Linked DNA regions of Homo sapiens: all the other regions are linked to region 5. Evidence: promoter capture Hi-C in human tissues and cell types (Jung and others, 2019). All regions are on one chromosome and are shown on one strand. Each heading gives the region's core, a stretch centred on a gene start or on the middle of the fragment in contact. The rest is flanking DNA. Distances are from core to core; before and after follow the strand shown. Region 1 holds the start of LOC107985093 (a long non-coding RNA gene). Region 2 overlaps LINC01708 (long intergenic non-protein coding RNA 1708). Region 3 has its middle 3.5 kb from the start of LINC01708. Region 4 has its middle 33 kb from the start of LINC01708. Region 5 holds the start of PALMD (palmdelphin).

Region 1 (6,061 bases), core at 1,739-4,238, 210 kb before region 5:
CTTTTTTTGTTCCTAAGTAAATTTGACCAAATTGGACAACCTGCTCTGATATTCTGACACCATTTAGGCATAGTCATCTTCTTAATTAAGAAAAGAAACCCCTACAGAATTGAGATATAAAATATTTTTCTGTTAAGTATTGGTTATGTATTGTCTTTTAAGGTCTATGCTATTGCTATGAATGTCCCTTGGGTGAGCTACATGAAAATCAACATCAAGAAAAGCCTAAAGTAAAGAAGGAGAAGATCTGTACTTTGGAAGATGATATGGCTTTGGAGAAAACTGGAAATACAGTAATAAAATTAAGAATCCAATGAATGGGCTTAATAATAAATTACACATAACAGAAGAGAAAATTAGTGAACTACAAAACAGTTCAGAAGAACAAACCGAGAGGGAGTGTGAAACAAAAAAGATGGAAAAATAATGGAGAGGGTAAGAAATGTAAAGAATTCACAAAAAGGCCAAATACATGTAACTGAAGTTGCAAAAGGACAGGAGAGAGTGTAGAGGTAAAAATTCTTTTAAAAACCTAATGGCACCCTTTCCTTCCATCCTCTCTTCACCTGTTATCTTTTTTTCCATTTCCATCTTCAGATTCTTCCCCAGCCCTTCCTGTCCCACCTACACTTCCCAAACTGGCAGGGTCAGCATGGTGGCTAAGAGTACAGGGCAGTTAAGTAGGTGATAGGAAGCCACATGGATTATTTTAAAAATCAGTAGAGTGGGCCGGGAGTGGTGGCTCACACGCGTAATCCCAGCACTTTGGGAGGCCGAGGCAGGCGGATCACGAGGTCAGGAGATCGAGACCATCCTGGCTAACACAGTGAAACCTCGTCTCTACTAAAAATACAAAAAATTAGCTGGGCATGGTGGCTGGCACCTGTAGTCCCAGCTACTTGGGAGGCTGAGGCAGGAGAATGGCATGAACCCGGGAGATGGAGCTTGTAGTGAGCCAAGATTGTGCCACTGCACTCCAGCCTGGGCGACAGAGCAACATTCCATCTCAAAAAAAAAAAAATTCAGTAGAGTGCCTTCCTCAAGAAACTTTTCCTTTTATTTATTAAGTGGAAAAAATACCAAGAAAATCGTGTGTGTGTGTGTGTGTGTGTGTGTGTGTGTGTATATCTATAGTTTGGTTATCTTACAAGAGACACGCTTTTAAAATGAGGACACAGGAAACATTAAAAGAATATTATACACACACACACTTCACATAAAACTCAGTAAAAGAAATGTGATATAGCAAACTGATACCAGATACAGTAGACTAATAATTCAACAGAAAGGTATGGCAGTTCTATGTGTGTATGCTCTTAATAACATGCACTAAAAATAGAGCCAAAATTGGAAAAACTAAGAGGAGAAATATGAAAATCCAAGAAAATATTTGGATTTAACTCAACTTAGAAAATGATAGAGGAGGCCAAGGGTGGTGGCTCATGCCTGTAATTGCAGCACTTTGGGAGGCCGAGGTGGGTGGATCACTTGAGGTCAGGAGTTCAAGACCAGCCTGGCCAACATGGTGAAATCTCATCTCTATTAAAAATTCAAAAATTAGCTGAGCTTGGCGGCACGCGCCTGTAATAACAGCTACCCAGGAGACTGAGGCAGGAGAATCACTTGAACCTAGGAGACAGAGGTTGCAGTGAGCCAAGATTGCGCTACTGCACTCCAGCCTGGGCGACAGAGTGAGACTCCATCTCAAAAAAAAAAAAAAAAAAGAAAATGATAGAAGAAAAATAATCAGTGGAGGTATTTGCAAATATTTGAACACCACTAAGTACAAAAGCACCCTCACTGTTATACATTATACATAAAAAATACCTAACTACTTCAAAATACACATTCTTCTCAAGTTTACAAGGAATATTTACCAAAATAAGCCATATGCTGGCCATAAAACAAACCACATTTCTAAAAATGAAAATTATATAGTATGTTCTTTCAACATCAGAAATCAAGTAGGAAATTGATAACAGAAAGTAATTAGAGGCTGCTGGGTGGGGTGCTGGAGCCTGTGCCTGGTAAATGGTTCCAGGACAAGAGAAAAGAAAGGTATGTCAGACAAAGAAATAAATGGCATGTCAGGTTTTGCAAGAAGAGAGGGAAGAGCCAGCTACCATAGTTGCTTCCTGTGATGTCCAATGGCAGAGGCCAAAGAGAGTCCTGGGGCACCCTAGAGGGAAAGTGTTCTGGCATGGAGGATGACATAGGTTACCTTAAATATGGCACCAGTTGTGGTTGAAATTACCTTGTTTTTCTCTTTTCTTTCTTTTTTTTTTTTTTTAATCTATTGTCTCTTACTTGCCCTTCTATGTAATGGAAGCCCAGTAAGGCCAGAGACTTTATCTAGCTAATTCCCTGTAACCCTGGCACCTTGGACATACAGGTATTCAAGTATTTGTTCCCTGAAATAATACTCTGAATTAACCTGCTCACATAAGAAAAATAACACCAGCTGGGGAGCACTGGGACTGACAGCTAAATGTTTGTTAGACATTTACTATGGGCCACGTTCTTGCTGTGCTCCTTCTCCCTGTGGTTTTCAAAAACCAGTCACCTAACCTGAAGCCTCAAACTCTTCATCTGCAAAAATGAGTTGTGGCAGGTGCCTCTGAAGCAAAAATCCTGGGCTAGAAGGAGTGTCGTCATCTAAGGCAAAAAAGAAAAACAAAATCAAGACTAAGAGAGGAGGAATTAGAATGAGACTCATGTACCCTCCTTCCCCACTCCAGGGGAAGGAGAGACTGTTTGGGAATGCCCTCCCACTACTTCCAGGGCAGAGGCTGTGCAGAGGAGCCTTGGAGAATCTGCAGCCCACTGATGACTCTGCTTCAGTCAGTGTTTCTGACTTTCTGATGGAGAGGCCTCCCATTGATAAGATTTTTGTCACTGCAGCTAAATGGGGGCTTCAAATACAAATAAGTTTCAGTTACAGAAAAAAAAATTCTTGCACGTTTAAGCTTATCCCTTCTACGGTATTATCTGTGAGAATTATAGACCAACCATAAGGCACTCAACATTTAGTTGTACATGAGAATTTTCACTTCACTCAAAGCTTGTGAGGTTTTATCATTAACGTTTTAATTTGGTGGCTATAGTGGAAAAGAACAAAGCTAACGAGAACCAATGAACACTGCCTTTCCTGGGATTGTCACTTCAGTAGGTTGTGAGTTCCTCTAGGGCAAGGGCAGGGTCCATACATTTCCTTTGAATCCCTCACGTAGTCACTAGCATGCACAGTACTTGTATCTAGCACATGCTCAATAAATGTGGAATGAACGCATCATGAACAAAATATAGACTAATGACTTTGAGTGCTGATTCTTTTTGTCAATAGTATAATATTTAAGATATTTATGTAACAAATATTGAAACAGTTGTCAAAAATATAACAGAGCATAAATAAAATTAGAGAGTTTCAAAGTGACAACTAAACCGTGTTTTTGGATATCAAGCAATATATTTCTACATAACTCACAATCAAAGAAATATTAAAATAGAAAGTAGAAACTATTTTGAACTAAATGCAAATTAAAATACTATTGTAAAATGCAGCTAAAGTTATACTTGAAAAGATGTTTATAGGCTAAATGAATAGAAAAAAATAAAAGTATTAAAAATTAGCCGGGTGTGGTGGCATGTACCTGAAATACCAGCTACTCGGGAGGCTGAGGGAAGAGAATCACTTGAACCCAGAAGGCGGAGGTTGCAGTGAGCCAAGATCACACCATTGCACTCCAGTTTGAGCCACAGAGCGTGACTCCATCTCAAAACAAAAAAAGTATTAAAATTAATGAACTAAGTATTCTTCACAATAAGCTAATAAAAGAACAGAATATTAAATGAAAAGAAATAATATCATAAGAGCCAAAATAAATAAAATAGAGAATTAACATATAAAAGGAAAAAAAAGCAACGCCAAAGATGAGTTTCTTGAAAAACCTAATAAACCCTGGCAAGATTGGTCAAAGAAAAAAGAGAGAAAATATAATTTCTAATAGCAGAAATGAAAATAGGGACTTGGCTATAGATCCCACAGACATTAAAAAGCTGATAAGGGGATATTATGAAGAAATTTGTCAATAAATTCAATAATTTTATGAAAATGGACAAGTTCTTTGAATAACACAATCCATAACAATAGATGGAGTTTATTCCAAGGATTCAAGACTGGATTAACATTTTAAAAGCAAAGGATTTTTGTTGACATTATTTATATTAAATTTAATAGAATAAGGAGGAAAAAGCATATAATCAACTTAATAGATACAGAGAATATACTTGATAAATAAACCCCACTCATAATAAAATTCTCTGAACAAACTACAAATAGAAAGAAACTTTCTAAATTTGGTAAGAATGTCAATGATAAATAATCTATAACATATGTGTATATAATATATATGTACATTTAACATTGTACTATGTTGAAATATAAATGCTTTCCATCTATAAAGATGTCCATTCTCACCATTACTATATAACATTCTACCAGAAATCCTAGCCAAACTACTAAGGCAATAAAAAGAAATAAACAAATAATAATTGAAAAGGAAGAAGAAAATCTATTATTATTTACAGATATTTTGTACACTAAAAATCCAAAGGGTCTCCAACAAATTATTATAATTACTAAATAACTTTCACAAGTCACAAAATCAACATTTAAAAATTAATTTCTATATACTAGCAATGAACAATTAGAAACTAAAATTTTTAAAAACAACATTATTTTCAGTAGCATCAAAACCTTTAAATATTTAGAGATCAATTGAGCAAAATCTATACAAGAACTCTAAACTGAAAGCTACAAACCTCACTGAGGAAAGTTAAAGAAAATCTGAATATATCAGGAAATATACCAAGTTTATGGATTGGAAGATTCAGTATTGTTAAGGTGTCACTTCTCCTCAACTATACACATAAATTCAATGAAATCCCAATCAAAATCTTGCAATTTTTTTCATGGAAATTGACAAACTAATTCTAAAATTTAAACAGAAATGCAAAAGACTGAGAACAGCTTAGACAATTCTATAGAAGGAAGAACAAAGTTGGAGGACTGACAATCTACCAGATATCAAGATTGACCATAAGCTACAGTAATTGAGACTGGTAATGTTTGACAGATGAATATATAGGAAGAAATGGAAAATAAAAAGAAGTCATGAGTGCGAAACAGGTTTAAAAACCAGCATCCAGGCAGTGGCTACCAGATTGAAGGCCTTGAATAATCCCCTATGTCTCTTAGCTCTGTCCTCCGGGCTGCGGGCTTCACACTGAGTCCCCATCCCCAGCCTGTGGGCTCCAGGCTCTGCTCTCCTAGCTCTTGGTTCCACCCTCTGATTCATCTTTCCTTTATGCATGAAATGTAGCTTGTGTTTGCAGATAAGTAGGTTTATGGGGCTTGACAGTCATCTTTTATTTTATACACTTTCTGTTCCTTTCAGTCTAGCTTGCAGTGTGTCTGCCAACATCATTTTCTCTAGAATCTTGTGGATTTTGCATGAATTTCATGAGGGTTCACTCCATTAGACTAAAGTCTCACCAACAGATCTTTCTGAGCTAATCCCTTCTCTATATTTGGCTTCTGCTGAGATGGCCAAGGGATCACACCATTCAAGACTCTTAAACTTGAAATCTGTGAGCTGCACCCTTAATCTCGTGCAACTGAATAATCTTTGATCTTTCAAAGATTTCCACAAGAAGTTGTATAGCCACACTCTCAGCCTTTTCTCTATGTCATGCTTTTGGCAGTCATTTGTGAATTTTAGCCTCTTTCACCACCTGGATAGATTAAGAATATTCCAAATCATCAAGTTCTGGTTCTCTTTTGTGTAATTCTTTTCTCAAATTATATCTCACTTCTCTTATTTTACTATAAGCTATAAGAAAAAACTAGGCCACATCTTCAATATTTGGAAATCTTTGTTAAATATCCAAGCTTGTTGTTTACAAGTTCTGCTTTCCACATAGCTGCAAGAATCAATTCTGCTAAACTCCCTGCCTCTGCTTAACAAGGATCCTCTTTCCTCCAGTTTCTAATAATATGTCC
Region 2 (5,564 bases), core at 2,047-4,546, 170 kb before region 5:
CATTTACCTTTGGCCAGTTTCTAGGTCAAAGTTGTTAACTTTGTCAAAAATACCAGTTCATGTCCATTTTAATTCCTTTTTAAAATGTCTTTTTAATATATCTAATGAAATAAAATCATCCACCTTTAAATTATTAGTATCACAGTATTCATTACAAGTACCTTTAGTATAAAAATGAATTATTATTATGTCCAATAGTATAGATCTTACAACATGCATGTAAAAGCTTAAATATCTCCCAAGCAGATCAAGCTCATTGTGGTCCAAACCAAACCCAAAATATGTTTTTCAACTAGTTTTTCTTGATCCATAATTTCGTTTCGTCTATCTTATTTCTTACGCTAGAGGTTTATAAATCGTCCTCACTTTTCCCTCTCTATCTCACATTCCTCACCACAACATTAGTCATCAGGGTCCACTGATGCAATTGTCCAAAATCTCTTCATTATAAACTTCTCACCATCCTTCCTGCCACAAGCTTGTTCAGTTAAAATCATAAGACCTACTAGCTGGTCCTCCCAATCCTCTTTGTCACTTGTCTAATTTATTCTCTAACCTGCAAGCAAAGTTAATCTTAGGAAATCTCAAATCTTTTATTTCACTCCCTACTTAAAATTCTTTTATGGTTTTCTCCATCACTTATGATCATTGTTTAATGTGAGCTGGTAGGCCCGGCGTGACCTGAACCCTGTCTCCTCTTTGCCTCTGCACCAGCCATTTATCCCCTCACTTTCATGTCTTTGGCCACACTGATTGGCCTAAGCTCTTATCCACCTCAGGACATTTCCACACATTGTTCATTGCCTGGATCACCCTTTAATTTTAACTAAGCTAACTAACTTTAATTTATCCTATAGATAACAGCTAAAATGTTATTCATTCAGGGAATAATTTCCTCCCCATCCATCCTAACCATAAATATACTTTTAATTAGGCCCCACAGCTCTGCTTCCAAAGTATCCACAATTATTCCTTCATAGGTCAATTCACAATGGTAATAACTTGTTTAATATTTGTGTTCCTTGCTATAATGACAGCAGGTAAACTTAATCCACCAATCCAGATGTGTAAGAAATAAGGCACTGTCATGTTGTTGGGTTTTTTTCTAAATTAACTTAAATCTAATCCCTGCTTAATCAGTTTAAATCTAAATCCCACCAATCTGGAGAGAGTTTTAATCCCAGTGATTACTGGGCTCTACCTCTCCCATTTGCTTAGTGCCATGAAAAATCTGAGTGGTATGTCTTATTCTGTCCTAAAGCACTGCACTACAGAGGTCCATCCTGTTCGTGGTTCTCACTGGTTACTTCAGAGAAGCCCATTTTCCATTCTCATATGGTCTTTTCTAGCACCTATCAGCTCTGTACTATGCTTGGGGTCTGGGAATGTTCACTGGGAGTGGGAATTCCATGGCTTGAGAGCAGCCTCTCTGGATGTACTTCTAGTTTGCCATTGCCCAAAGATGCTGCCAAGGAAACAGGGCAGGGCTATTCTACTTGTGGGCCCAGCAGCCTCTGCCCCCACCCCAGTCTGAAGCCTCTCCAACCTTCCTTGGTGACCCTGAAGATGACACTCCTATTCTTGCTTCTCCATTTGCAGTGAGTACAGTCTTTTGGAAAAGCAGAAAGGTTGCTTTCAAAAAGTTTCTACTTTCCATTCTGCAAACGTCTTTGAAGCAAAAAACAAAAGTTATCTGCTTAAACTAAGAAGGAACAGAAAAATACAGCAGGAAAAAAAAAACAAATGAATGTCTAGAGACAATTCATGTGGGCAGAACTAGCTCATATAATGTGCCCAACATATATGTATATTGAAAGAATGACTGGATTTGAATTAACTCACAATCCTATTAATGTGTTTTACATGTCTTTGCATGTGTTGACAGGCCTGCATAAATGAATAGAGAATTTTATAGAGAAGGAGAAAGAGAAATCTGACCTGATATTTATGGCCAGCAGAAGAGCAGCCTTTCTGCTTTTTGTCCTGCCTATCATATGACCACATCTAGCTTTAGCTCCATGTCAGCTGTGTACTGCAGACACCACCACCATCGGCTTGGCAAAATAAGAGAAAAATAAATATTCTCTCCATATGACATGAATCCCAGTATGCCTTTTCCACAGGCTAATAATAGTCTGTCTTCCCCTATAAGGTGGACAGGGAGTGTAAATGATTGATTGCAAGGTAGAACAAGACTGTATTTGACCTTTTACCACATGTGAAGTAGAATTGAGAGTTTTAGGTACACTCAGAGTTTAAATCAAGCAAGCTCTAATAGAATCACACACTACAGTGTTTAGATAACCTTCCTTTCGAATAGAAAAAACATTTCCACTTCTCCATTCCAAAGCTGAGGTACATTTTGAAAAATGAGAGATCTATTAGCCTTCTTTATAAAGGGGAAAGAGGAAGAGAAAAAGGTTTTCGGCTGGATTTCTTCTTATTTTTGCAGGAGACATCCAGCAATTGTGCTGTGCTTACAGAAATTTCATGCGACTCTCTAAGGCTACATATTGTCTAATATATGGTTGATACTTAAGAATATCAAATAAAAAACACCGCTTCCTAGGAACTGGGCTCTCTTTCAACTTGAATATTTGGATTTTGCAAAATGTATTTATACCTCCCGGCGCTGAAGTCGATCTGGACTTCAGCAAGTTACCTGTCCTATGGAACTGGCTCTTTTAAGAACAAGCCCCTGGCTCCAGGAAGCACATTTGCTCAAATGTAAGCGGGCTGCAATTGAAGCAATTTGCTCCCTAACCACCTTGTAACAATCTTGTTTCTGATTCTGTGTTCCTTCTCCAGCTCCCCTCCTGCTTTGGCCCTGAAGATTGAGGGACCATTTTATCTGCACTTCAGAAATCCTTTTCATATCCTATTCCTGGCTAGGATGCTGCCTCCTAGACCACTAATTCCATGGACCGTTAATCTGTTAAAGTATTCTCCATCTTGCAACAGACTCATATTTGGCTTTCACAGATACTTCTGACCGCTCATGGCCCCATTTTAAATGAGCCTTAGCCCCATTCCTAAACTGCCTGGATCAGGTTGCTTCATCTCAGAATTTGAATCTTTATCAAAGAATTCTGGTGTTGTATTTCTAGTTGTAAAAGAATCCCAGGATAGCAAGACACAAGACTTGCCCAAGATAGATACCCAGGCCATCATTCCTATCTAATTCATTTCAATCATTGGGAAAGCTAAGTTCTTAAACCAAGATATTCAGCCTTCTTTAAGCAGACTCCTTCATTTAATAGTTGAGGTAGCGAAGTATCATTCTTTTGCGGCACAAACTCCAAAGACCAGCAGGAAAAAATGCTGATATCCTTTTATTCTAAGGATATAGAATACAAGTTATTTAGGTGCTCAGCGAGACATATGCATCCAGAAGCATTAGATTGAATGACACAGTCAACACACGGAGGCACATCTCCACTCTCCTCAACATAAGGAAGCATGATTTCTGGTGTTATAGAAGCTGTTTCTTGACACATTATTGCAGGGAAATGCCCCTGAATTGCAGTTACCAAGTGAAAGCCACATCACATAAGCTATCTGACAAATGAGGAGAAAATCAGGTCACAGAGCATTATTGGAGAGAAAAATAACGTCAAAGTACTCAACCATAAAATTATAGCTGAGAATGCTGTCATAAGTCAGCACCTCTAATGGAAACAGCAAGGCTAGCAATTGTTGCTCAGGTACCTGAGAGGCAATGTTCTACAAGAGCGATGGTCACCCAGAACATCAGTGCTCTCTTTCAGTTGGCTGGTCCCCAGCCTCACCTTCTTCTACCCAATTTGGACCACCTGACCCCACCTTTAGCTTCAGGACTGTTACATCATCAGAAACCAAGCCTAGACTCAGCAATGAGGACTTTAAGAAATTCGTGAGCAATATTTGGATGTGACACTCATTCCAGGCCTGACCTCACTTCATAAGATGCACATTCATAATTGTATCTGGATATTTTTCTTCTGCTCACTCAAATTTTACAGTCTGGATTTTGAAACCAGATGGGTTTAAGTTTTTTCACTGAGGAAATTGTAATATCTGACTTCTTGCCTATAAAGTGGAGATAAAATATTTACTTGCAGAGTTGTTATGAGCATTCACTGAGATGATAAATGTGAATGGGTCTAGCATAGGGTCTAACACATGGTAAGTGCTAAGCTTGCTGCTTTTTAAAATTCCCATACTACAATTCTTCAGTTTCTTTTTCTGTTTTCAGTCTGATGTCTTACTTGTTGACATTATCAATGGCTCATCTCAAAAATTATAATTCTAATTTTTTTTAATTTTACTTCTAAAATTATTTTAGTTTTAATTAAGTATATATTCTTCTAGATGTGCACTCTAATACAGTAGCCACTAGACACATGTGGCTATTTAAATATAAATTTTAATTATTTATTTTAAGTAATATTTAAAAATTCAGTTCCTCCATTGTACTAGCCACATTTCAAGTGCCCTGTGGCCATGTGTGGCCAGTGGCTATTATATTGGATAAAACAAATACAGAATATTGTCATCATGGCAAAAGTTCTGTTTGACAGCTCTGGAAGAGACAAAATCTAAGGAATTTGCTAATATACGCTATTACTTTTCTCTGAACATTTAGTTACATTTTCCTTAATGTATCAACAAATGAGACAGGAAGTTCTAGCCAGAGCAATCGGCAAGAGAAAGAAATAAAAGGCATTCAATAGGAAAAGAAAAAGTCAACTATCTCTCTTCATTGATGGTATTATTCTATATCTAGAAAACCCCAAAGATTCTGCCAAAAGGCTACATGAACTGGTAAATTATTTTAGTACAATTTCAGAGTACAAAATCTATGTAACATATCTATACACCAATAATGTCCAGGTTCAAAGTCAAATCAAAAACATGATCACATTTACAATAACCACAAAGAAAATGAAATACCTAGGAATACAGCTAACCAAGGAAGTGAAAGATCTCTATAAGGAGAACTACAAAACACTGCTGAAAGAAATCAGAGATGATACAAATAAATGGAAAAGCATTCCATGCTCATCAATGTCATTAAAATGGTAATACTGCACAAAACAACACTGGAGAGAGATTTAGTGATTTAACACTATTCTTATCAAATTACCAATGTCATTCCTGATAGAATTAGAAAAAACTATTCTAAAATCTATATGGAACCAAAAAAAAAAGCCCCAATAGCCAAAGCAATCCTAAGCAAAATGTACAAAGCCAGAGACATCACACTACTTGACTTCAAACTACACTATAATGATATAATAACCAGAATAGCATGGTATTGGTACAAAAACAGACACATAAACCAGTGGAACACAATAGAAAACTTAGAAATAAAGCCATACACTTACAACCATCTGATCTTTAATAAGGCAAACAAAAACAAGCAATGGGAAAAGTCCTCATTATTCAATAGTGATGAAATAACTGGCTAGTCATATGTAGAAGAATGAAACTGGACATTTAACTTTTACTATATACAAAAATTAACTACAGATGGTTAAAGTTTTAAGTGTAAGACACCAAACTATAAAAATCCTAGAAGAAAA
Region 3 (5,995 bases), core at 3,226-5,725, 150 kb before region 5:
TGTGAATAGCATATGTCTGTGTAGTCCACACTGAGCCAGTAGAAGCCCCTACTCACTTTCTACTCCTTCTGCCATGGAAATATAAGAACAGTCCTTGTATTGAGAAGGTAGAGCCTCAAGTTTGAGGTTGCCTAGATCCCTGAGTCACTGAACAGACGAACACACAGCTGTCCTTGAGAGTTGCCCAGATCTGCGACAGATTCTTGCATCAGTGAGATGTAAACTTTTTTTCTGATAACTAGCATTAACTGCAATAGAGCCTATCACATCTTGACAAAAGAGGCTAGTTAGGAGGCAGACATATGCAAGGTGGTATGCATTTCACTAAGGGAAAAATAAAGTGCATTTAGCAGAGAAAATGAAAAGTAATCTATTATTTCTAAAGATGTCGGGGAAGGTATCATAAATTTAGAATGAGTGTGGCAGTTTAACGAAGCAACTGGAATATAACATTGAGACACAAGAAAGACAGTCAAGGATGGAACCTTGGGGTACACTAACATCTAAGATTTAGATAAAGGCAAGTTAATAAAGAAAACTGAAAAGAGAAGACAAAGGAGCAGAAAGAAATGGTATTCTGGAAACCCAGAAAGGAAAACATTCCAAGAGGAGTCAGAAATTGTCTGTAATGTCAATTGTTGGGAAGTCATGATCTGAAAAGAGACCATTGGATTCAAAATTATGAAAACTTTAAAGATGATATGCAGACTCTAGTGAATGGGAGACAAAAAGGTGGCAAAATATGCTTATAGTAAACACACAATAGCATTTACCAAAGTGTGTTTTGGAAAACATTTACTGCACAAAATTCTCCCCAAAAAGATGGAGGGAGTTGACTGCCGAATACATTTGAGACATGCTGCTGCATACTATATACCTATGAGGGATTTTAAAAATCTATTTGTGATTTCTCACCTTGGGAGATAAGGAAAGGAAAAACAAAAAGTATTATTTGCTTACAAACTCACAATGTCAAGTCAAGAAAACAAAGTAACCTCCTGGGACTTCTCCACAAGTGTTGACCAATAAAGTTTAGTTTCTAGTAGCACTAAATTTTGTTTCACTAAGAAAAACAAAAGCCCTTGAATGTGGACAAATTAGGCTAAATTTTTTAATTAGGTATGTCTTGAAAATAAAAGAATCCATAAAGTATGTTTTCCCTTCTCACAAAGCACATTTGTGGTTTGCTAGCCTGAGCGCAATTACAAGCTTCGGCCGATTTTTGCAACTTTCCTTTTCTCTAATTTGTAAAATGGAGATAAGAATAACACAGATTTCAAAGAGTTGTTTTGAAGAGTCAGTGAGAGAAAACATGAAAGCACTTAGAATATTGCCTGACATATAGGGAATGCTCAATAAATATGAACTATGACCATTATTAAACTTTTCATATCTCCTTCAGCATCAAGCTGGCACACAGCAGAACGCAAATCATCTGGGCTCCCTGATGAAGTGTTGCTATTGACCCTTGGCAGTCAATGTACCATCCATGCATAATTTACACACTAATAATCAAGAGTTGACAGAGGAACTATTATATTTGGTTACTTCAGTTTCAAGTGGAGATATCTGAACTTGAGAACTGTCAATCTAGCCATGATTTTCACAGAACTATCCTTGTGGTATTTGATCATTTAATCCACCTAATTGCATGAAAATAGAATAATTTAATGCATATTCCTAATTGGGATTCACACCTAAACAAACCCACATGTTCCTAAATGAGTGTGCGGTGAGTCTGTGCTTTTCTGTCATTACTCCAACCATTGCATTAAATTGTTAAGAAACCTATTTTCTGAAAGGAAACTATAGGAAAATATCTAGCCATTTTCTTAATTAAAGAGCAATTCTTTAAATCTTATTGTGATTTCAAAACTTTAACATAAAGTCTTCTGCTCTGAGGAAAATTATATATGTCAGGCTGCCAAAGAATTCCCTCCCCAAGAATTTGCACCATGTGATCATGTGGGCTGTGAGCATTCTGAACGCTCTCCGCTCAAATCTCCCAGACAGAGCACTGCCTCTTCCTCCCACACAGTTTGGGGTTTGGGTTTGTTTTTTTGTTGTTGTTTTTTTTTCCCAAAAAAAAAAGACATGAGAATTTAACTCATTTTTACTTTTAATGTCAGACTCATTCTGAGGCTATATACAGAATCCAGCATCAGCACAGAAAAAGTCATTTGAGTTTCCTCTTCCTCATATTGAAATAAAAATAAATATCTAAAATTATCCATAACACGTAGTTTTAAATTACGTAGATGTAAAACCCTTGCTCTGAAAGCAGCACTGAATTCCCCTCAGAATGTCTTTAGAGGTGGGTTTTTATATGTCTGCCATCTGAGTTTTTTATACCCGCATCCTTAGAAGGCGTTTTATAGATTACCCTGTCTGTCCAGCAAGAAGTCCACATTAGCTTGTGGTAACTGCACTACCATAAGGAGAGCAATCAGCATTACCTCATTGCTATCTTCTGCCTCTTCAGAATTCACAGACTCTTCATCCCTCTTCTGGCAACTTCAAAGACAAAAAGTAGGCAAACTATCCACCTCTATTTCTATAATTCTACCACATGTCTTTGCTTGCCAGGATACAAGAGGGTATTTTAGAAGACAAACATTGTGTCAATCCAGTACTCTATTGTCATTTTGTAATGTTTTCATATTGCCATTGCATTCTTCCACCTGGCCACACCACACATAGTTAACTAAGCTTCTTTTGTACTAACTTCATAGACACAAACCCAGTTACTATAAAGAATAGAGTAAGATCAATCATGTGCACCTGACTCTTCCCGTCACTGCCTTCACTCTGCCAATTCCTCACTATTCTTCGTCTCCTTAAGTATAACTTACTCAGGGAGACTTTCTCTCTACCCTCCTTCCTCTCCCAACACACACCTGTCTAGATCAGGTCCTTCTATACCACGTTCTGAGAAACATCCTAATTCTTCTTTTTCTTTGTGGCATTTGAAATGACTGTAATTTTAGGGTGATCTGTATAATTGTTTTTTAGTGTTTCTCTCTCCTAGACTGTTTACATGTCCACGATTACTGCTCAATAAGTGTTTGTTGCATGAATGAATCCTTGTGGGTAACATCTTTTATTAAAGAAACAAGTCTGATGAGATTATAGTCATGTTCAGATTTCTGTTATCAAACTGAGGAAGAAATAGAAATAGACCATTATCACTTTGGCATTTAGAAAAGCATTTAATCTAACCGTAATTCATTTCATGAGTCTGGCCCTTTAAAATTTAAAATATAGCAAATAAACAAACAATGATATTACCTTATCCTTGGGAACACTATTTTTCCCCTGTTATAGTTTTCTATAACTGACACAGAACATTAAAATGTGGTATCTGCTTTTTCAGCAAATCATTTAATATACAAAGTACCATTGCAAAATAGCCTATTGAGGAGGATAAAAATTTACTACCAACTTCATTTGGCCTCCCTGACCAATCGCCTCTAATGGCTACTCTGTGTTATCTTCCCCATGTTCTCTGCTGTTTATGTCTTTCCTGCTGCCTCTTTCGCTGCTCGGCTTCCTCTCTGTGCTTCACGCATTTTACCACTGGCATGCAATCCACTGAAGGATGTTCCCGCAGAGATTTTCCACTCCGTGGAGGAGTCAGAGATTCACCATTAACCCCAAACTGGCCTACTGGCATTTACAGAACTGTCCAATAATGTCCCTCCTCCCTTCTCATCAGCTGGTGTATGCTTGGAAAATACAAGCAATTATGATATTGTCCTGAGGTAAACATAATTAGGAATCAAATCATTAGAGAAAAAAATCCACCATAATGCTTTTTAAGCCAAATATAAATGATTTATTAAAAGCAATCTATATTCGTTTGTCAGACTGATTTCCAGAACTGAAAATCTCATTTAATATTTCTATCCTTACCTAAAATGGTACTTAAAAGGTTATTTGAAATGTTATTTGTGATTACTAACTCTTATGGTCTTGCAGAAATCAAAATACCACAGACAAATATAGGCAAGGGTAACAAGGCAGCTGTAAATGTTTTTCCTCTAAACAGATTCTCAAAAGTTCTTTTTACTGAAAAAAAAAATCAACCACGCAAATGAGCTCTGCTAGGAAATATTAATAAATCTGCATGCAAAATTTGATCCAGTAAATATTAGGTGCCTGGTATGTATGGCACTGGCAAAATGCAGAGATAAATAAATCCTCAAACTCTCTGTCCCTCAGTATCTTCATTTGCAAAATGGTAATAACAATAGTACTTACCTCAAGTACGTGTTGTAAGGATTAAAGGAGTTAACACATATGAACACTTAGGGGTGGGCCTGGCACCTAGTAAGTGTTCAAGAATGTTAGCTGTAATTTTTATTATTTACAATGATGAAGAAGTTTTAGCCGGGCATGGGAGATTTAAATGTAAACATAAAAATATGGACCCCACTGTGGTTGTTCCAGATGTTTTTAGTATTTTTTAAACCTCACTTGCCTTGAAAATGCATCTATATGAGTAGCACCTCCACCATAAGTCTGATCAACATTGGACATCTCAGAGACTTGAAACCAAACCAATAAAATAAGGGCTAATAGTACCTTTTCATTCCCTCCACTCATTTCCAGAGAAAACCGGGAAGATAGTTCTTTCTGTGGGAGACCCAAGTTTCCAGCTCAGGCTAATGCCTGGATATCTTCTTGAATATTCTAAAGTGAACCTAAAAGACATCAGATAAACCCTGAAATATAATTTATTTGTTTCATTTGGTTGTGTGTGTGTCTTCTGAAATCTATAAAATGGGGATAATTACACAAAATGACAATATATAATAATATATAATGCTGTGAGCCAGACCTTGCTACAAGAAATTTCCATATATTAACTCATTTAATTCTCACTATAACCAATTATTGTTCTCAATTTACAAATGAAGAAGCTAAGGCACAGAGTAGCTGCTCATATAGATGTATCTTGCCCAACGTCACACAATTAATTAGCCAGGATTTGAAACTAGTAATGCTCTTAACTACAATATTATACTGGTCCCTACTCAGCACTTACATTATAAATTATGCCTATACCAAAATTTCTGATATGTCAAGACCAAAAGCTCCAGGAGCTCCTTAGAGGAGCACAAAGAACATTGGCTTTGTCCTGTTTAACAAAGTCTGTGTGGTTCCTATAACTAGGGTCACCATACATCTAATTCTGCCTGGGACAGTCCAGGTTTGTACCTGTTTCCCCAGTGAAAATTATAAATAGCACCCCCTTTCACCTTCAACAGTAATGTAAATTATATGTCTGATCTTTAACTTAATAGTTCCAAATGTGAGAAATGAGTTTGTATGTGTGTATATACACATATACACACATATGTTGCCGCCTGAGATTTTGAATCATTTACCCTTAAAATGCTTTGCTACTTTTTCTTGCACAGATTTCTATCTCAAAAATAAAATCAGAATATTCACTCAGCAAAAGAGTGGAGGGGGTATAAAGGAGTAACAGGCCCTGACACCTATGACACAAAGTATTGGTAATAATTCTGACTAGAACTCAGCTTATTCTCCCGTTGTCCTGCTTAGTTCATGAACTATTGTTGAAGTTGTTTTGTAAAATGCATTTGAATGTATCTTTGACAAACATACTGTTAGTCACTTTTCATTGTTTTGTAATCTCCAAATTGATATGTTCACTTGCTTGATCGTTGAAAGAGGAGCATCCTATTTTCATTCATGGGGTTTCCTTGAGGTTTCATTGAGGTTTCAAACTTTCATGCATTTGTTAGGGTATGTATAAAGTAACAGATTGTTTTCCCTGCTACACTTTCACCATTTCTTGTCCTGATTCAGTTGTCTTTGATGCTGCTTTGTTTTATGAATTTAGTTTGCCTTCTCTCAATCCAAGAAAAAAAAAAGAAGTAGAAGAAAGAAAAGAAACAATTACATCACCTTTATATGCTTTCTGGGTATCTTCCTTCCACTTATCATTTCTTCAAAAATGGAGTGA
Region 4 (6,077 bases), core at 1,338-3,837, 190 kb before region 5:
AATTTAGAGCATTTGAACCACATTAGCACCAGTAACCAGATTTAAATTAGAGTAAGTTACTTAACATTTCTTAACTTCAGTATTCTTGGCTGTAAAATGAGATCTGCAATGGAATTCAATTTATCGGATTAAGTAAAGATTGAGAAAATGTAAATAAAGTGCCTAGCCCATAATAAGCGCTCATTAATGTTAAACATTACTATAATCGTAGTAGTAATGGTAATATATTTCCTTATCAAGGCCCTCCAGCAACTCCTGGATGCTGCTTGCAGACTTCCTCTTGACTTTTAAAGCTCTTCACCATATTTTCATTTGCCTGATCTCTCTTTATATCTTCTTATGTTTTTCATTGATCTCTCACCTCTAAGTATGGTTAATTCTTAAAATTCTTCACTAGGCTTTAATAGGTATAGAAAAACAATTTGTTTAAAGAATGGATTAATATCACATCTTTTGCTCAGTCTTTAAATATTAATTTAATACTTAAGCAATTTTCCATTAAAATACAGAGAGACTCTCTGAGTGTTTGATATCAGAAGCCATTTAGTTGAGGTAGTGAATACAAAAAAAATCTGAGGAGAATGGGCTACTGCCATAGTTAAAGGCTTAAAGGACTGAGAAATGGTGGTCCCTGTTTATACACATTTAATTCATTAGTTTGGCTTTTGGAAAAACCAGGTGGATCCTGATAGATGACAGTGGACTAACACAAACATAACCAGCACTAGTCCCAGTTACAGCTTCTGTACCAGATCTGGTGTTTTTACTAAAGCATGTGAATGAAGTCCCAGGGATGTCACACGTGCCTATTGATTTAGTAAATGTGTTCTAGTCAATATCCATTAGGAAAGGAGATCAGAAGCACTTTGCATTCACTTGATGTGGACAAGTAAATAAAGTAAATATTAACGTTATTGAGGCAGAACTATGTCCTCTATCACAATATGAAGGGGCATGAACAATCTGTACACTCTGCAGAAAATCACATGAATATACTCTATTGATGACATCATGTAAATTGGACCCAATGAGTAAAAAGTGGCAAGTACTCTAGATGTCTTAATAAGAAACATACTCCCCAGAGTGAGGGAAATAAACATTATAAGGATATTAGAGCCTGCTATACCCATGAAGTTCTTTGGAGTTCACTGGTCTCAGGCACATTGGGACATTTCCTTCAAAATAAAGGACAAGTTACTATATTGCACATAAACTATCATAAACTAAACTGGCTGAGAGGCCTCTTCATTTTTTAGAAGCAGAGAATTCCATACTTGGCAATACTGATCAATCTACTTAAGTGATGCAGAGACTCAAATATTTATTGCAATGAAATGACAGAGGCTATGTAGTCAGATTACTCTCTTTAAAGAGCAGTAAAGTGCAGGGGTTAAGATCACAGACTTTGGAATCACCATATCCACATTCAGAACCTAGCTCCACCACTTAACTATCTTGTGTGACTTGAGGAAGTTACTTTCCCTCTCTGGTCCTCAGCTTTCTCATCTGTAATGTGAAGATAATAATGATGCTTGTGACAAAGTCGTAAAGACTATTGTGGACTTCTACATCTGGCACAGATAATGTTAGCTATTGTTTTTATTATATTGGAAATGTCTCCCTTCTAAGTAGGCTGGGTATTTTGAAGAGAAGGGACAGAGAAGGGAAGGCCTAATGTAAACATTAATACTCATGAGCTTATTTTAGTGAATGGGATTTTAAAAAAAGGTTAAGAATTACTTTAACAAAAGAAAAGGTGGAAGATTAGTTCTTAAATATAATACATGAAGAAGGTCAGAGTCTGATAGAAAGAAAGAGATACCCAGAAATAAAGAAGGAGGCCCAAACAAAGAAGGGGTGAAGGTGACCAGGAGAGATGTGATAAGTAATAACAAAGGACAGGCAGAAAGGACAAATTAGAAAGACCTTGAAGTTAAAAGAAGAAAAGAGAGTGTGAGAAGGCCAGCAACAGATTTCAGGTGGCAGAGGGCATGTGCCAGTGAAGAATAAACAGCAGGGCCTTTGTAGAGGGGACCAACTGTTGACAGGAAAAAGAGAAGATTCAGAGTCCAGGGTTGGGAGAATTATAATTTAGAAGCACATTCTGTTATTGCAGCTGCAAGCATCAGCACTCTGGTAAGGTCATGAGAATATGAGAAGCTGATTAACGAAGAGAAGAGGTCATCAGAGTCACTGAGGAAAATAAGTGCAAAAATGGTTGACAAAAGCACATCCACGTGATCAAGAAGTTGATGGGAACTAAACAAAACTGGCGCTATTAAGGCCCAAGCATATTTAGTCAGTAAATGTAATCCTCCTAAATGTCATTTGTTTTAATGATTCCCATTGGTGTGGCTTTTAACAGACAACCTGTCCAAGGTTGATCGTCTGACTTTAAATGTGCAGAGAAAATGCAGAGTTGATTTACACAAACCAGAAAACTGTATCAAGGCCTGAGCTCATTGTGATCAAATAACAATTTTGTTCCTCTAACACTGCCTAAAAGGGTTATAGAGTAAGACTCCGTGAGTTGGTGTCAGCTGTGTGTGTGCAACCACCAACCTTGCTTAACTCCTCCAAGCCTCAGTTCCCTCATCTGTGAAATTAGAATAATAAGAGCAACTACTTCAATGACTGTTATAAAAATTAGATGAGTAAACATATGTAAAGTGCTCAAACCAGCACCAGTCTCAAAGTAAACACCATGTAAGTGTCCAATAGCATAATCTTTATAGGGGATGTTAGCTCTCTTTCAAACTGACTGATTAGATTCATTCTATTAACTCTTAGTTATGGGATAATGTATTTTAAGACGAAAGGTTTCATTAAGTTCCTTTTTCTTAATAATTATTTTATTTGTTTATAAAAATAGATAAAAATGACAGGAAGGGAGGCAAGGTATTGAGCCATAACAACAGTTCTCAGAAGTGTCCAGATATGATCATCACCCTTAAGCCATCAAAACAACATTCACACACACCATCCCATTTGTCATATTCCCCAAGTGAGTTATAAGGACCTGAATCTCTTCACATAAAAGACTTAGATTTATGTTGGTCCTACAAGGGCAAACACACATTAACTGCATCTCAGAACATTTTTTAATTTCAATGAAATGGGTTCCTGAATGAGAGAGCTTTGAAAAGCTGTGCTTTGGTAATTTTTGTTGTTGTTGTTGTTGTTGTTGTTTTTGTTGTTTGTTTGGGACAGAGTCTCGCCCTGTCACCCAGGCTGGAGTGCAGTGGCGTAATCTCGACTCACTGCAACCTCTGCCTCCTGGGTTCAAGCAATTCTCCTGCCTCAGCCTCCTGAGTAGCTGGGATTACAGGCACGCACCACCACACTCAGCTAATTTTTTGTTATCTTTAGCAGAGACCAGGTTTCACCATGTTAGCCAGGCTGATCTCAAACTCCTGACCTCGTGATCTGCCCGCCTCAGCCTACCAAAGTGCTGGGGTTACAGGCGTGAGCCAACGCGCCCAGCCGTGCTTTGGTACTTTTTAGCAAAGTTCGAAACAATAAATGAAGGTGTCGTATCAGAGCTTCCTTCCTCTGGTGCAGCAGAGACTCCCGGAGGCATTTTTTCAAAATAACAGGGACCACATAAGCAGAATATTCTCTCCGAAGTGGTAGAGATTAGTCCCTGAAATGATGGCTCGCTGGGGAAAAGCCTTCAGCCAAACTTTCTCCCCCACAAACACACACCCCAGGGACACACCCTTGTAATATTTCCAGCTGAACAGAGGTTGCCACAAGATATATGATCTTTCAGTAAAAAATTTTCTTATCAACAAATACCTCCCCCAAAGTCTAATGGCTATGAAGCAGAGGTGCTACTTTACCTCCTAAGAAGTTGGAAACTCCTTTTCCAAACATGGAAAATATTCAAGCAAAAATTTCCATGGTTATTCATAACATCAGAAAGTAAAACCATGAAATATTAGGGGTTCTTGCCTAAGGCAGTCTCGATTTCTTTTTTTCTAACATGAGAATTATTATTTTAGAGTATTTCTCATGTTAGTTGCATGATCATTAAGTAATTACTCAGAATCTAGCCTTAGAGGAAAAATTCATCTAAATAGGTATTCCCTAAAGATTTGAAATAAGCATAGGTAAAGGTCAATAACAGAACTCTATTTAGATGAAACAAATATCAGAGTATTGGCAGGTTACAAAGAGAATATTTGAATCACAATTTTATAATTACTGGGGAGATGTTGCTCTTCCCTCACAGTAGGACTATTTGCCACAAAAGTGCAGGATATGGCAATAGATATGCCTATTAGGTCAGGTCAGTGGTCATTTCATTACATCCCCTTTAACTAAATTCCACATGCCTCATGAGTCTGAGCCATCCCAGGATAAATCTGCAGTGCCCGTCTGCTCACCAACCCTTCCACAATTCCTCCTAGTTGTCTCTCATTTGGCAGTTCCACTAGTCCTATTACCACCATTCCCTGATTCCCTGGCTCCCATTTTGCTTCCATCTGTTGGGTCTGATTCTCCATTAAAGCCCTTGGATTGATGCCCAAGTAACCAACCTTTGACAACATTCCAGGACACCACTTCATTCTTCCGTGCTCTAGTTTCCCAGACAGTGCATTCACCCATATAGCACCCATCCGGATTTAGCCTGACACAAACCGGACCTTCTGACCAGGAGAGTGGGAGGGAAGTTTCAAAAAAACATTGCAATTTCAGCAGGCTGGATACAAAATAGTGCCTACGAGATAGACTCATCTCCAACTAGATTTAAAGCAGATTGTCTGTGACCACGAGGTCTCAAAGAGATGGTGAATTTCAAGCGGCAGTCTACAAGTGATAGGTAGTATCAGTCCTTGTACACAGGGTCCTAAGCAATTTTGTGGGGGTCGCTGGCAAGATTTTTGTCCTTTGAAGAGGGAACTGCCTGGAAAAACACTATGCCTCAGTCCCAGGTTGGAGGAAAATAAGAGACAAGGTGATTACAATAACTGTAACTGGGGTAGTGGGATTGAGGCTTTAATCCCAGTTGTAAGAACTGGGGCACACAGGTCCACAATTGTGGTGATGATGGTGTCCCATATCAGAGCACCTGGCTCACATAACCAGCTTAGGATAGCCAGAAGCTCTACCCTTAATACCACTCCCAGACCCCTCTTGAGGTGCCTGGGAATATAAGCTTTTTGATGATTAAGTAGTCTTTGGTGCTAGAACATGTCAGTGACCTCAATCCATTACTACATTCAGGAAAACACAATCCAGTTGCAGTGGAGGTTACAGTAGAGACAGGATGAGCTGTTCCCAAGTCTGGCTATGCAAAGATCTTTCCCTTCAGCCCCATCCTGTTTCCTCCCACTCCTGATTCTGGTGCTAAAATCTCAAGTAGAGAAAGATTTACTCAGAGCTGCCATCAAACTCCCACCCAAGCGTAGGTTGCCAGTAGGCAGATAGGCTTAGCACTTATGCAGTTCCCATGAAAAGAGAAGCTTCTGTCTGTTTTATTATTTAGTTTAGTCAGACAGATAGAAATCTCAGATGACGCTGATATGAGTAATGAAGTAATGTATAAACTGTTTGCCAGCAAACTGTTCCTCCTGTAATCTGCCATGTTACATCTATAGGAATGCTCTAAGCAAGTTTTATTATCAGCACACAAATAATAAGTGCAAAGGGGAAAATTAATCATCTTATATTATCTTTTTAAATTGGTTTTAAGTAAGGGTTTTTAATTCCCCATGAGGGTGACTGGCATTTCCTGTTTTGCCTGGGGCCTTCCTGGTTTGATTAGCTATGTCCCAGGAAAACCCTCAGTCCCCTGCAAGCCAAGATGGCTGATCGTCCCATCTGGAATTGTAAAACTTGGATTGGAGTTCACGACATCATAGATTAACCATGTGGTTTGGGGCATATCAGTTGACATATCCTATCTTCAGATTTAATCTAGGATAATATTAGGACCTACACAAAGCATTCTCTTGATCTTTTTATTGTACCAGAACTTCTCAACCAAGGAAGAGGAGTCAACACCAAACCAAACAAACCCTGAGTAGTGCCAAAATTTGCCCTCTCCCTTCTGTCCTTTATTAAGAACAGGG
Region 5 (5,312 bases), core at 222-2,721:
AACTCCAGTCAACAATGTGGGGAAACCTCAGTAGGGCCAATAAGTTTCTCCAGAGGACATTCCCACACCGTTCTGCCTTAGGCTGTTACACCCAGCTGTAGTGTTCTAGGAGCTAGACAGAGAAGGAGGCTGGGGGTCCAACCACTTCTCATAAAGACTGACTTAACCTTCAGCCTGTGCCTCTCCTTGCCCCGTGTCCTTGGGCAGTCCTTGATGAATGCCACTTATAAAGTCAGGCAGCTGGTGTTCCAATCCTGGCTTTGCTACTTACTAGCTATATGGCAAATTACCTCTCTGAGCCTGTTCCCTCATTTTTAAAGTAGGGATTATAGCACTTATCTCTCAGCACTTTGCAAGTATGCATTTACCTGTAGAAAGAATGCAACAAATATTAGCTATTATTATTACTAATATCAAAACTGCAAAGGAAATTAAACCATATGTTCAATGTTTGGGTTGTCCTTTTAACCTCTTCAGCTGAATGTTGATATGAAAGCGCTTAATAGCATTCAAACACATAATAATAAGGTAGTTGGTAATTAGGATTTACTTCAGCAAAATTTAATTAAAGAACCTGTAGGGAAAAGAAAACAGACAGAGCCAATTGTACAGCTTCCCAGCCTCTGCTTTGACCTAAGAGTCTCACTGGGCTTGCCTGCCTTTTTCTAAAGGATGGGCGAATATTCACACAGTGCCGGGCTCCAGGCAGTTACCAAATGTCTCATCACATTTTCAAAGGCTCACTCCTCTCTCTTGCGTAACCGGTGAGGTCAAAATGGGCACCTTCCTGAAAGCCAAGAGTGTCATTTCTGAACAGCGTCCAAGAAAGAAAACTGCATTCCATAGAAATCCAAGTCAAGCAATAACAAAAGGTGGCACTTGGTGCTTAAGCCACACTAAATACCTTGGTGGGCCAACTTCTTAATATAGTCACATTAACACCTTTGATTTCTCCATGACCTAAAGATTCCAAAGTTTGCAACAAAGTGCTGAGCAGGGGGGTCGGGGGTGGGGTGTAGACGGGGGAGAACGAACCAATGTAAATTTACCACTACATGAAGTTTAAAGTAGCTATAGATTGTTGTATTATTATCAAATCCAATCAGTGGAAGAAAGGCAAACAAGTGACTTGGCACTTCTGCCTCAGTCAAGGTAAGGCTCTCTCCCCTAGAGCTAGCAAGCAGGTAAACGAGCTTTGTACAAACACACACAGACCAACACATCCGGGGATGGCTGTGTGTTGCTAGAGCAGAGGCTGATTAAACACTCAGTGTGTTGGCTCTCTGTGCCACTCCTGGAAAATAATGAATTGGGTAAGGAACAGTTAATAAGAAAATGTGCCTTGCTAACTGTGCACATTACAACAAAGAGCTGGCAGCTCCTGAAGGAAAAGGGCTTGTGCCGCTGCCGTTCAAACTTGTCAGTCAACTCATGCCAGCAGCCTCAGCGTCTGCCTCCCCAGCACACCCTCATTACATGTGTCTGTCTGGCCTGATCTGTGCATCTGCTCGGAGACGCTCCTGACAAGTCGGGAATTTCTCTATTTCTCCACTGGTGCAAAGAGCGGATTTCTCCCTGCTTCTCTTCTGTCACCCCCGCTCCTCTCCCCCAGGAGGCTCCTTGATTTATGGTAGCTTTGGACTTGCTTCCCCGTCTGACTGTCCTTGACTTCTAGAATGGAAGAAGCTGAGCTGGTGAAGGGAAGACTCCAGGCCATCACAGTAAGTCTGCATACAGTTATAACTCATTAACGTTGTTACTTAGAGGAAGGCAGACCGTGGCCGGCTGCCCCTGTCGCTGAGCCCTCGCAAGTGGAAAAACAGAACTGTCAGCCTTCATGGACGAGTCTCTGTTTCTCTCTTAACCCTCATGACCCTCTGTAACTCTGGGGCTTCAGAACCTGAGTGCAGGGCAAACGTTCTTGATTTTCAAAAAGGCTGTGCCTGCATTTTAAACAACAATCAAAAGCTGTTAAGGCAGTCTGATTAACTATCTTTCACACTCTGTGGTGTACCTTAGAAATGCAGTTTTTCCTTAAATGTCCATTTGACTGGCATTAGATAAAAAAACAGATCCCCAACTTGGAAACTTTTTTAAGCTATGAATGCCTCAAAAAGTTAGAATTTTTTTTAAAGAGAGAAAAAGAAATTTTAAAAATGACCTGAAACTTTATATTTGTAGTGTGGTAGCATGTTCCAGAAAGCCTAAAATAATTAAAATGAATGTTAATATACGTAATTTAAGCATTAAACAAGAGAAAACTAGGTAAAAGCACGTATCAGATTAATTCTAAGATATCAGTTTCCAGCAGAGTCACAAACTGAATAAGATCCTGATAAAGGAATGCAGTGCATGCAGTGGATTTGGAAAATATTTTGTTAATACCGAGAAGGAAAATCGTACATTTTTTATGTTTGTTCCGGGAAAAAGTCAAAGCCAGAAATAAATTACTTTTCTTAAATGATCCAGCTTTCTTTTTAATTTTATAAAACCCTGTATTTGGCAGTAACTTGGAAATCTGTGTCACAATCATTTATCCCTAGCTATAACTTTTGATGTAATTGTTTTAAGAAGAAAAAGATCTTTGGAAAGCAATATCCCAATTTCTCAGCATTTTCTGCCACTGACATTAGGTATAGGAAAAAAATGAGTACTTTTTAAAAACTGATGCTAGATCAGGGATTTTTTGTTGTTGTTCTTAAAATTTTCATTGCATAACTAATTATGCTAATCCTAATTTAGATTTTTTACTAATTGATACAATATCTTAGTTTCACCCAGGAAACATTCAGTAAATTGAAATGTCTTCTTAGCCAATAGTAAGACACCAGAAGTCTATTGATAAGGTTGGCACTTTTCCATAAAACAATGCTTTGTTAAATGTCTAGCTTCTAATTATTACATTTTCCTCTCTTCAGAAAACCTTGGTCGGGATTATTGTTTGTTTTGTTTTGTCCTTTTTTGTCATTAAACTCAGCCACCATCTCAGCTGTCCTGCTTTAAGGGACAGGAACTCGGCTCTGCTCTGTTGTTTTTGGCATGGGCCTTTTACATTACAGCTGTTGTCTAAAGGTTACTTTATTAGACTGCGTGAGTTGTGTGGTCACAGGCTCCACTATTTCTAATGCTTATATCTCCTAATTAGCTAATTGAAATAGACAAGTAGACCCTTGTTCTGAATTTGCCTCTTTCAGTTGGGGGACACCCTCGCTCAAGCCCTTTTTCCCTCCAGTGTACCTTATAACTCTTACCAAAGCCACACATGTTCCAAAGATATGGCTGTATACAGTTATTTCTAAGGCTAGGAATCTTAGTCACTGAAGGTTCCAAACGCAAATAGAGACAGAAAATCCTCATAATGTCTTAAAAGCCATCAAGAGAGTAAGTAGCTTCCTGAATATGCAGATGTATGCTTTTTTGATGATTAAAAAAATTTTTGGATTATTCCATCAGCCTAAATATATCCCATTAGAAAGGATTAAACAAATCTCCCAAGTAAGATCACAAAGTAATTCTAGCTTGGAAGTAATATACTTGTATAAAGGTTGTAGGGAAAAAACTGGAAAAAGTTTATGGGAACAAATTTCTCATAAACCAGCCTACACCTCACCAGGCTAAATCCAGTCACATTTGTCACCACCTAGAGGAAAAGTGGAGCAGTGGTGTGTCCATGGAAACAACACATCCACTCTCCTCCCTCTTGGACGCCCTGGGACACGCCAGCTTTCCTCGCCCTCGCCCTTGCCTTGCCCAGGAAGCCACCTCAGCTAGTCTCTTTCCCCCTAGGAAAATAAAATCACAGAGTATGCAGAGAGTTTGCAAGAATTATTTCATTTTTGGAAATGCTTAAGCCTCAGAATCTCCAACCTAGACTAAAACTCAGAGAGTATCTTCTCATTTTAGCTTTTTCCTAGTACTTACCTACACTGAAATAATTTTTTGTATACTTCAAGAATGAAATCAGAAGGCAATTCCCCAATGCACCCAGACATAGCAACACATAGACCTCACTTTGGAGGAAAAAAAAAAAACTTTTACACTCTAGGATCTATTTGCTTTTTACATTAAAATTCGTTTCTCCAATTGCTGGCTATAAAATAAAATAATCTTCACAGTTGTATTTATTCTACCTGGTTTCAAGTGCCTAAAAAGTCATTATTTTTCACTGCAAAGAACTGAAAAAATAAACGTATATACCTAGAATTTGACAGAACAAAGATCCAAGTGCCAGTCTTTTTCTTTTTCTCAAAAAAAAAAAAAAAAAGGTTAAACACATTAAGTAGTTGAAATGTGACACTTAGGCTCTCAAATTGAAAACTAAATTACTATCGTGATGCCATTCATTTCTCATATCAGATCAGTAAATTGAATTTTAGATTAGTCAGATGTCTTCTCAAAGATTTAAAGAGAATAAGAGCAAAATTATGAAAGTATGCAGAAACAATTGTTCAAGGGTAGATACTTCAGTTTGGGTATACCAAATATAGATTCTATTTTACACAATTACTTTCATGTTCTTCCTTAATACTTTATCCATGCACCAACTCTTCCCTTACTAAATTAATGGTCAAAGTACCCCTTTGCCTAGAAGTTCAGTTTTCAACTATAATTTAAACACAGGGCTGCTTAAAATTAATTAACTATTATGTTTGATCTTTAAAATGTCTCTTGAGGCCCTTTTCAAGTCAGTACACACTTGAACAAATAGCTGATCTTTCTACAAAAGGTGAGCTAATTGGAATTCAATAGTATTTTGAAATAGACTAGTAATTTGAAATTCACCTTTAACAATACTGGAACTGAGGATACCAATGACTCCAGCATTCTCGAGAAGAGTGAGATGAAGAAGCGTGAGATGAAGGACTGAACGTACCACTGACAGAGTTATCCCTACAGAGTTACTGTCTGAAAGTGAACGTGGCCCACACTGAAGAACAACGAAAAGGCCCAGGGGTCTCTCCTCAGAAACACAAAGATTCCCTTAGGATGAGTAACATTCCGTATACTCTTAACATCTCCTCCACAGCTAATACATTTTCTTACCCCCATGCCTACAGCGACATTGGAAAATACCATTACAAATATGGATATGCTCAAACTGGAAAATTAGATCTTAAACTGTCTTGCGATCATAGACTCAGTTCTATTTGAAGGATGAACTCAGAGGAAGTTTAAGAACTAGAATCCAATTTCAGAGAACAGACTCAACTGAGAAAAAGAGAGTAAGAAGAAAGCTGACATTTTTATTCTCCTCCAGGCTTACCTTTAACTGTAAGGAATGTGTGTTATCAACACAGTCTCTCATGCCTTTA

The links. Contacts are between HindIII fragments. The study calls those that stand out against the background at their distance.
Region 1: a fragment that was not itself captured here is called in contact with the fragment with the promoter of PALMD in region 5 in 1 of the 25 tissues and cell types used here (aorta).
Region 2: a fragment that was not itself captured here is called in contact with the fragment with the promoter of PALMD in region 5 in 1 of the 25 tissues and cell types used here (heart right ventricle).
Region 3: a contact is called between a fragment that was not itself captured here and the fragment with the promoter of PALMD in region 5, in 2 of the 25 tissues and cell types used here (liver and neural progenitor cells).
Region 4: a contact is called between a fragment that was not itself captured here and the fragment with the promoter of PALMD in region 5, in 1 of the 25 tissues and cell types used here (IMR-90 fibroblasts).

The regions. Positions count from the first base shown.
Region 1 is chr1:99,433,524-99,439,584 of GRCh38, forward strand. It overlaps LOC107985093 (a long non-coding RNA gene), which reads right to left and starts at 3,767. Exons shown (of 3, transcript XR_001738163.2): 1 at 3,651-3,767. The HindIII fragment of the contact is 3,033 bases long and covers 1,473-4,505 here.
Region 2 is chr1:99,472,682-99,478,245 of GRCh38, forward strand. All of the region lies in intron 2 of LINC01708 (long intergenic non-protein coding RNA 1708), which reads right to left. Among named protein-coding and RNA genes, the nearest start is that of LINC01708, 12 kb to the right of the region's middle. The HindIII fragment of the contact is 7,447 bases long and covers 1-5,564 here.
Region 3 is chr1:99,488,267-99,494,261 of GRCh38, forward strand. No RefSeq gene overlaps it. Among named protein-coding and RNA genes, the nearest start is that of LINC01708, 3.5 kb to the left of the region's middle. RefSeq lists a silencer at 54-254. The HindIII fragment of the contact is 5,033 bases long and covers 1,960-5,995 here.
Region 4 is chr1:99,452,205-99,458,281 of GRCh38, forward strand. No RefSeq gene overlaps it. Among named protein-coding and RNA genes, the nearest start is that of LINC01708, 33 kb to the right of the region's middle. The HindIII fragment of the contact is 5,453 bases long and covers 1-5,314 here.
Region 5 is chr1:99,644,642-99,649,953 of GRCh38, forward strand. It overlaps PALMD (palmdelphin), which reads left to right and starts at 1,472. Exons shown (of 8, transcript NM_017734.5): 1 at 1,472-1,721. The coding sequence starts at 1,677. The HindIII fragment of the contact is 22,760 bases long and covers 1-5,312 here.